2 separate regions of the Homo sapiens genome follow, and region 1 is linked to region 2. Evidence: promoter capture Hi-C in 16 types of primary human blood cells and fetal thymus (Javierre and others, 2016). All regions are on one chromosome and are shown on one strand. The core of a region is centred on a gene start or on the middle of the fragment in contact, and the rest is flanking DNA. Distances in the headings are between cores, read along the strand shown.

Region 1 (3,595 bases), core at 1,065-3,564, 61 kb before region 2:
TTAGCACAAAATAAAGAAGTTTGGGCAGCTAGCTGTTAATGCCCAAGGCAGAGTCATTTCATAAATCTTTTCTAATAAATGGATAGGGTAGAATTTTACTCTTATTCTCATTTTATGTGGAAAGTGATTGAAACTAAAATTTCAAACAAACAATGGATCAAAAAATTATTGTAAGATCCCATAAGGATAGAAATGCACCCTCCTTTAAAATTTCTGATGCTGAAAAATTTTAAAGGTAAATTAGAAGATGTTTCTTTGAAAATATTTCTTTCTTTGTGCGTGTGTGTGTTCATAAGGCTTTATCAGAGTGCTTCTGTTTAGTTAAGTGTCTTAGTCAGTTTGAGCTGCTATAACAGAATGCCATAGGCTAGGGGGCTTAAACAACAATTATTTCACAGTTCTGGAGGCTGGGGAGTCCAAGATTAAGATCCTGGCAGATTTCATGCTTGGTGAGGGCCCTCTTCTCAGTTTGCAGATGGTGGCCTTCTTGCTGTGTCCTCACAATGCAGAAAGGGAGAGAGAGCCAGAGATCGAAAGCTCACTGATCTCTTGCTGTAATGGCACTTATCCCATCATGGGGGCCATACCTTCATAACCTCACCTAAACCTAATTACTTCCCATGGTCCTGTCTTCTAATATTAGCACATAAGGGAGTCAGGGCTTCATCATCTGAATTTGAAAGAGACACAAACATCCAGCCTATATCAGTAAGGTTGTGAAACACCACTTCTATTTTGTTATTTAACAAATATTTACATAACACTTTACATGCACTGATGGTTTACACATATTAACAATCAATACTTCTAACAACCCCGTGAGGCAGGCACTATTATAAGCTCTTCTACAGGGGAGAAACATGAGCAAATAAAGCATAAATTACCAAGGGTCATGAAGCAAGTTAGTGGTATGGCTGAAACTTCAGCCCTGACATCCTTATCAAGTGATCTCTACAGCTGCAGCATCCAGGGAACACTCTATTCCTAAGGTAGTCCCACTTCTTCATCCTCGTGCCACTCCCAGCCCTTCTCATAGCAGTGGCAGAATATCTCCATATCCCTGAAGTCTGCATCCACCAGGAAGAATTAAGACAGAGTATTGTAGGCCTACAGCTTAATTTTTAAAGAGAGGGGGTCATTGAAATTGATGATGAAAAGTCAGTAATCCAGTGAGAAGGCATCAGCTAAACAGGCTTGGAAATGCTTTATTGACATTCCTCTAGAACTAAAATTTCCTCGATAGCTGTTTCTCTAGAGGGAACCAATCCCAGGATGCTGGTAAATACATATGGCATGGAAATGCAATTATGTTAGCAATCTAGTATGTATATATCAGACATGTCTGCTTGTGCTTAGAGTAGTAAACAAGCGGAGTCTCATTCCCTGCTCCTTTTCTGGTGGTGTCTATGGCCTTTTCTGCCCAGGGACAGCACTAGAAAAGGCAGACCTCCTGAGCCCAACAGGCCCCTCGCAGCTCCCAGTGACTTCCATGGATCAAAACACAGACTTCCATACAACAAAAAATTGATGCTACTGGAATTACTAGAGTTCGAGATGTTCCAAGATTTCAAAGAGAGAAAGGATGGGGGATTGCAACACTGTTAACTAAAATAAACACTGAATTGACCCTTGGCAATGGTCTGTTCCCGCACCCAACACCTGGCTCCACTACGTTGAAACACACACACACACACACACACACACACACACACACACACACACACGTGATATTTGCTTTTAAGATCATAAAACACCAGGAAGGAGACAAAAGCTCTTATGCGTCATCTGAGATGACACATGTACTGTTAAAGCGTGCGTTTATTTCAAACATTAATGAAATTTGCAGAACCCAAACTAAAGAGAGAGGATAGATAAGACATGCTGCAGTTCTTGCCCTAACTTTCAATCCCAACAACTGAAATGTCTTCCAGAGAAGTAACTCCCCCCGGTAAGGATGTAGCGCGGTCCCTACGTGGGTCTAAGGGATCTGACCCACGACGCACTGCACTGGGTTCACGAAGCGCCTCCTCGCAGGCGGTTATCTCGGTATCTCTGAGAGCGGCGGGCTCTCGCTCCCGCTCCAGGGATTCGGGGCAGAAAGAGAACATCCCACAGTTGGCGGGAGTTACGCAAGACAGTCAGACCCGGACGTCACTCGTGAGTGCCCCGACCCCCCTCCACCCCAGAGGCGGGGCCATCGCCTTCCTTCCGAACTCGGGATCGATCTGGAGCTCCGGGAATTTCCCTGGCCCGGGACTCCGGGCTTTCCAGCCCCAACCATGCATAAAAGGGGTTCGCCGTTCTCGGAGAGCCACAGAGCCCGGGCCACAGGCAGCTCCTTGCCAGCTCTCCTCCTCGCACAGCCGCTCGAACCGCCTGCTGAGCCCCATGGCCCGCGCCACGCTCTCCGCCGCCCCCAGCAATCCCCGGCTCCTGCGGGTGGCGCTGCTGCTCCTGCTCCTGGTGGCCGCCAGCCGGCGCGCAGCAGGTGGGTCCCGGCGCCCTGGGGTCCCCGGGCCGGACGCGGCTGGGGTGGGCGCCCCGCGCCGACAGCCCCGCTCAATCAGCGAGTCTCTTCTTCCCTAGGAGCGCCCCTGGCCACTGAACTGCGCTGCCAGTGCTTGCAGACCCTGCAGGGAATTCACCTCAAGAACATCCAAAGTGTGAAGGTGAAGTCCCCCGGACCCCACTGCGCCCAAACCGAAGTCATGTAAGTCTCGCCCATCGCTGCCGCTGCCACTGCTGGGGTCCCCGACTCTCCCGCTGCCCCAAACCCTGTCCTCAGCCCGACCTCCTGTCTCACGAGATTCCCTTCTCTCTGCAGAGCCACACTCAAGAATGGGCAGAAAGCTTGTCTCAACCCCGCATCGCCCATGGTTAAGAAAATCATCGAAAAGATGCTGAAAAAGTAAGTTATAATTTCCATGTACACAGGCGACTGGAGCTGTTGGTCAGAAATACTGGCGTCTGCCCCCTAAAAAGTAAATCAGGAAAACCCAGGGTTAGCTGCAGGACTGAAAAAATTATTATTTTCACAAAGTTGCCATTAAGGTTATTAATCTGTTCTGGTGCCAGAGGATATTCCCAGTGCCCAGGGTCACCACCCAGGTTCTTCCCTCCTGCCAGTGAATGTAGGTAAAACTGCTTTCATGTAAGGTCTCATTGGAGTTTGCCAGTTGTGCTGAAGTGTTTTCCACCTGTTAAAAAACACAAGCTTCATTTCCCCTAGTTCCTACTGACTTTCAGACCTGAAAAGCAGACCCCCTGGTTTTTTGTAAAAGTTTAGGGTTGAAGTGCAGAGATTTCACAATAATATTGCACTGGGTATATAACTGGTTGCCACCACCTATTAGCCATGTCACTCAGAGACAATATTATTTAGTTTATCTGAGACTCAGCAAAACAGGGAAAATAATGGTAGCTACATCATGAGGTTGCTTTGAGGCTCAAGTGAGGCCCAGTATGACAAAGAGCAATAGGCTCTGGCTGTTTTAGCCAGTAAAACAGTGTAGACTGCCACTCCTCCACCCCACGTCACCCCCATTCCTAAAAGAGCATCCCAAGCCTAGAGGTCCTTGCCACACAGCACAGCTGT
Region 2 (3,597 bases), core at 951-3,450:
CCTGGTAAAGTACAGATGTGTCTTCCTTTCTGAAAGCCTTCCTAAATTAAAAACATTTAACTTTTTTGTTTTTTATAAATTCCCAATTGAACTTTATTTTTCATTTATAAGTTTGCAGCATTTATTACAGCTTGAAACTGCAGAAGACATTTGGGACACTATTTTGGCCTCCATTGGGTCAATGTTTTTTCTGTATCTATCCTTTCTTTCAAGGAATTTAAGTAGTCAGGGAGATGTGAGAGAGGAAATTATTGAAAAAGAATGGAGCATATATATTACCTATAGTGTCTATTTTAAAGTAACAGGACATTCTAGCACACCTTTCTATCCCTTGTCCAAGATTATTGTAATGACATCACAGATACCCGTGAGCACCAGTAACTACAAGACCATTTTGGAAACTGGGATTGTGGTGTTTATATGAACATTCTTCTTTCTAGGATGTGCTTTGATTTCTTAAGGACTCACACTGCTTTATATCAGTTAGAGACAGGGAGAGTTGGGTGGCAGTAAGGGATACAGAAAATTTTAAATGTGAAAAACACTGGGGAGTAAAACTTTCCATTAGATTCTTCTTTTTTCCTTTACAGAATTCATAGCAGGCTGAGTTTTTGTTCAGGCAATGTCGGGAAAGAAATAGCCTTTTAAAAATGGAAATAGTCCATTTTATTTATTTAACAACCATTAATAAGGCACTTAATCCATGTTGTCTCTTACAAATGTTAACTCATTTCTCATAACCACCTTGGGCTAGGCACAGAGAGGCTTAACAACTTGCAAGTGATACTCTGCAACTAAATACAGGCAGCACAGTTGCACGCTCTGTGTTTGGTTAGGGGCAAGGACTCTTATCCCTTGAGCTGGGTTGTGTAGAGCCCTGTGCTTCAGGCAGATGCCATTCCTTTCTCCTCTCCTCCATCCTACTCCACGTCTCAAAGAGGTCTGAGACCAACTTGTAGAATCACACTTAAACCCTCTAAAACCTAATGACAAATCAAAATACATTATCTAAAACTAGAAAAAGGGACAAAGGTGTCAGGTTAAAAGACTGAAAATCCAGACGAGAAAAAAAAGTGCCCTGTTAATGTTTCCAGAGAAAGATCCCCCAGTGCTGAATACCAGAAAATTCTATAGTAAATGAAATGTGATTTTATGTGTGATCTGGTGTTTAAATGTCATCAGCAGGCAGCTGTTTGCTCCTTCAGTGGGAATGGTGTTTGCACACCAGGTACCTACTCTCTAGTGTCATTCGCAAAGACAGAACCAGAAACATTGAGCCCATGATCCTGCTGGACCCAGCCCCTCCACAGCTTCAGAGTGACAGCCAGTGTCATATTTCTAGATCAAATCTGAATCCCTCCCACTGGGAGAAGGTCTCCAGGGGATTTAGGAAGTTCCAACATTTCAGAGGGAGGAAGGACGTTATGCAGGATACAAAAGAAGAGGTCATGTTATACAGCCCTGGCTTCCACGGACACTAACACTGAATTCAAATTTTGACACTGATAATCTGTTGCCACCAAATGGAAAACGTAAACAAGGTATTCTAAGTGTGATTAGAGAATATGCAAAACAAGGAACAAGTAGAACATTCTTCTCTGGAATCCGAGACGATGGCTGTACTTTCACAGAGAGCATGATGTTAGATGTACATGAAATAACGCTAAACCGAAAATGAGAGAGGCAGAGACCGGGAGGTTAACATAGAGGATAGACTATATAGAGAGAGGATAGCTGAGGGAAAACTCGCCTGTCTCCGGGTCCCCAGCAAATCTGATAACTAAGGAGACAAAGCTCTCTTCCTCTAAAGAAGTCGTGCCTTTCCTGTCCTGGTTCTCACGGGTCCCCCCAGCTCTTTCCTCCAACCCTACCCCGTACGCGGGGGGTCATCGGGGACCTAAGGTCCCCCCTCACAGGCTGTATCTTCAGCGAGGTGGACTCACTGCCTCTCCAGGAATTTGGGGCAGAAAATGAATATCCCAAAGTCCCAGAGTGCACGGGGGTTACTCTGGAGGGCGAGGCGTAGGCGTCACCAGTGGGCTCCCCCTACCCGTATCCGACTCCACCCCGGGGGCGGGGCCGTCGCCTTCCTTCGGGACTCCGGATCGATCTGGAGCTCCGGGAATTTCCCTGGCCCGGCCGCTCCGGGCTTTCCAGTCTCAACCATGCATAAAAAGGGTTCGCCGATCTTGGGGAGCCACACAGCCCGGGTCGCAGGCACCTCCCCGCCAGCTCTCCCGCTTCTCGCACAGCTTCCCGACGCGTCTGCTGAGCCCCATGGCCCACGCCACGCTCTCCGCCGCCCCCAGCAATCCCCGGCTCCTGCGGGTGGCGCTGCTGCTCCTGCTCCTGGTGGCCGCCAGCCGGCGCGCAGCAGGTGGGTCCCGGCGCCCTGGGGTCCCCGGGCCGGACGCGGCTGGGGTGGGCGCCCCGCGCCGACAGCCCCGCTCAATCAGCGAGTCTATTCTTCCCTAGGAGCGTCCGTGGTCACTGAACTGCGCTGCCAGTGCTTGCAGACACTGCAGGGAATTCACCTCAAGAACATCCAAAGTGTGAATGTAAGGTCCCCCGGACCCCACTGCGCCCAAACCGAAGTCATGTAAGTCCCGCCCCGCGCTTCCGCTGCCACCGCTGGGGTCCCCGACTCTCCCGCTGCCCCAACCCTGTCCCCAGCCCGACCTCCTGTCTCACGGAATTCCCTTCTCTCTGCAGAGCCACACTCAAGAATGGGAAGAAAGCTTGTCTCAACCCCGCATCCCCCATGGTTCAGAAAATCATCGAAAAGATACTGAACAAGTGAGTTGTAATTTCCATATACACAGGCGACTGGAGCCGTTGGTCAGAAATACTGGCATCTGCCCCCTAAAAATAAAATCAGGGAACCCCAAGAGTTAGCTGAAGGACTAGAAATTGTGATTATTATTTTCACAATTAAAGTTGCCATTAAGGTTATTAATCTGCTCTGGTGCCAGAGGATATTTCAGTATTTCAGTGTCTTCCATTTCCAGGCCTAACCCCTGGGAGGGTAAATGTGGGTTTCTAGAATACTAAGTAAATTTGACTAACAATGCCAAAATGCCCCCTGCCTGTTTTGGGACGTTTACCTCAGTCCCTAATGGGCTTCAGACCTGAAAAATGCAATGTCTGGTTTGGGCACTTTGGGCCTGTAAGCCTTCTTGGTGAAGAGCAGAAACTTTGCAGTAACACCTTCAGTGAGTTCAAGGCTAGGATCCCTGTCAACGTTATTTAATCTCTTTGAGCTTTAGCAAAATAGGGTAGATAATGGTAGTTATTTCATAGGGTTGTGTGCAGCTTAAGGGAGATCATGAATGGACATTTCTAACCCAATGTGACAATCAGTGACCAATATGTTTTGGCTTTTTCAAACCAAGAATCTAGTTGAGTCCACAGCCACTTCTTTCTTGAAAAAAAAAAAAAAAGCATTCAGGAGTGCAAGTTTTCTGCTATAGAAGGCAGTGGGTACAGACAGACCTTCCCTGAGTGGAGGGCTGGGAGAGAGTCTGCATGGGGACATCCCTCCAAGCAACTTCAGAGTGACAGAAGAGCAGCCTTCCTTAGCACCTGCAACAGTAACCC

The links. The method cuts DNA at HindIII sites, captures the fragments that hold promoters and counts their contacts. A CHiCAGO score of 5 or more calls a contact.
Region 1: the fragment with the promoter of CXCL2 here is called in contact with the fragment with the promoter of CXCL3 in region 2 in 1 of 17 cell types (megakaryocytes); the score reaches 7.2 in megakaryocytes.

Annotation. Positions count from the first base shown.
Region 1 is chr4:74,097,914-74,101,508 of GRCh38, reverse strand. It overlaps CXCL2 (C-X-C motif chemokine ligand 2), which reads left to right and starts at 2,314. Exons shown (of 4, transcript NM_002089.4): 1 at 2,314-2,488; 2 at 2,587-2,710; 3 at 2,825-2,908. The coding sequence starts at 2,389. The HindIII fragment of the contact is 3,135 bases long and covers 1-2,852 here.
Region 2 is chr4:74,037,292-74,040,888 of GRCh38, reverse strand. It overlaps CXCL3 (C-X-C motif chemokine ligand 3), which reads left to right and starts at 2,200. Exons shown (of 4, transcript NM_002090.3): 1 at 2,200-2,377; 2 at 2,476-2,599; 3 at 2,713-2,796. The coding sequence starts at 2,278. LOC105377275 (a long non-coding RNA gene) reads right to left here and starts at 1,944. Exons shown (of 2, transcript XR_938875.3): 1 at 1-1,944. The HindIII fragment of the contact is 4,426 bases long and covers 1-2,740 here.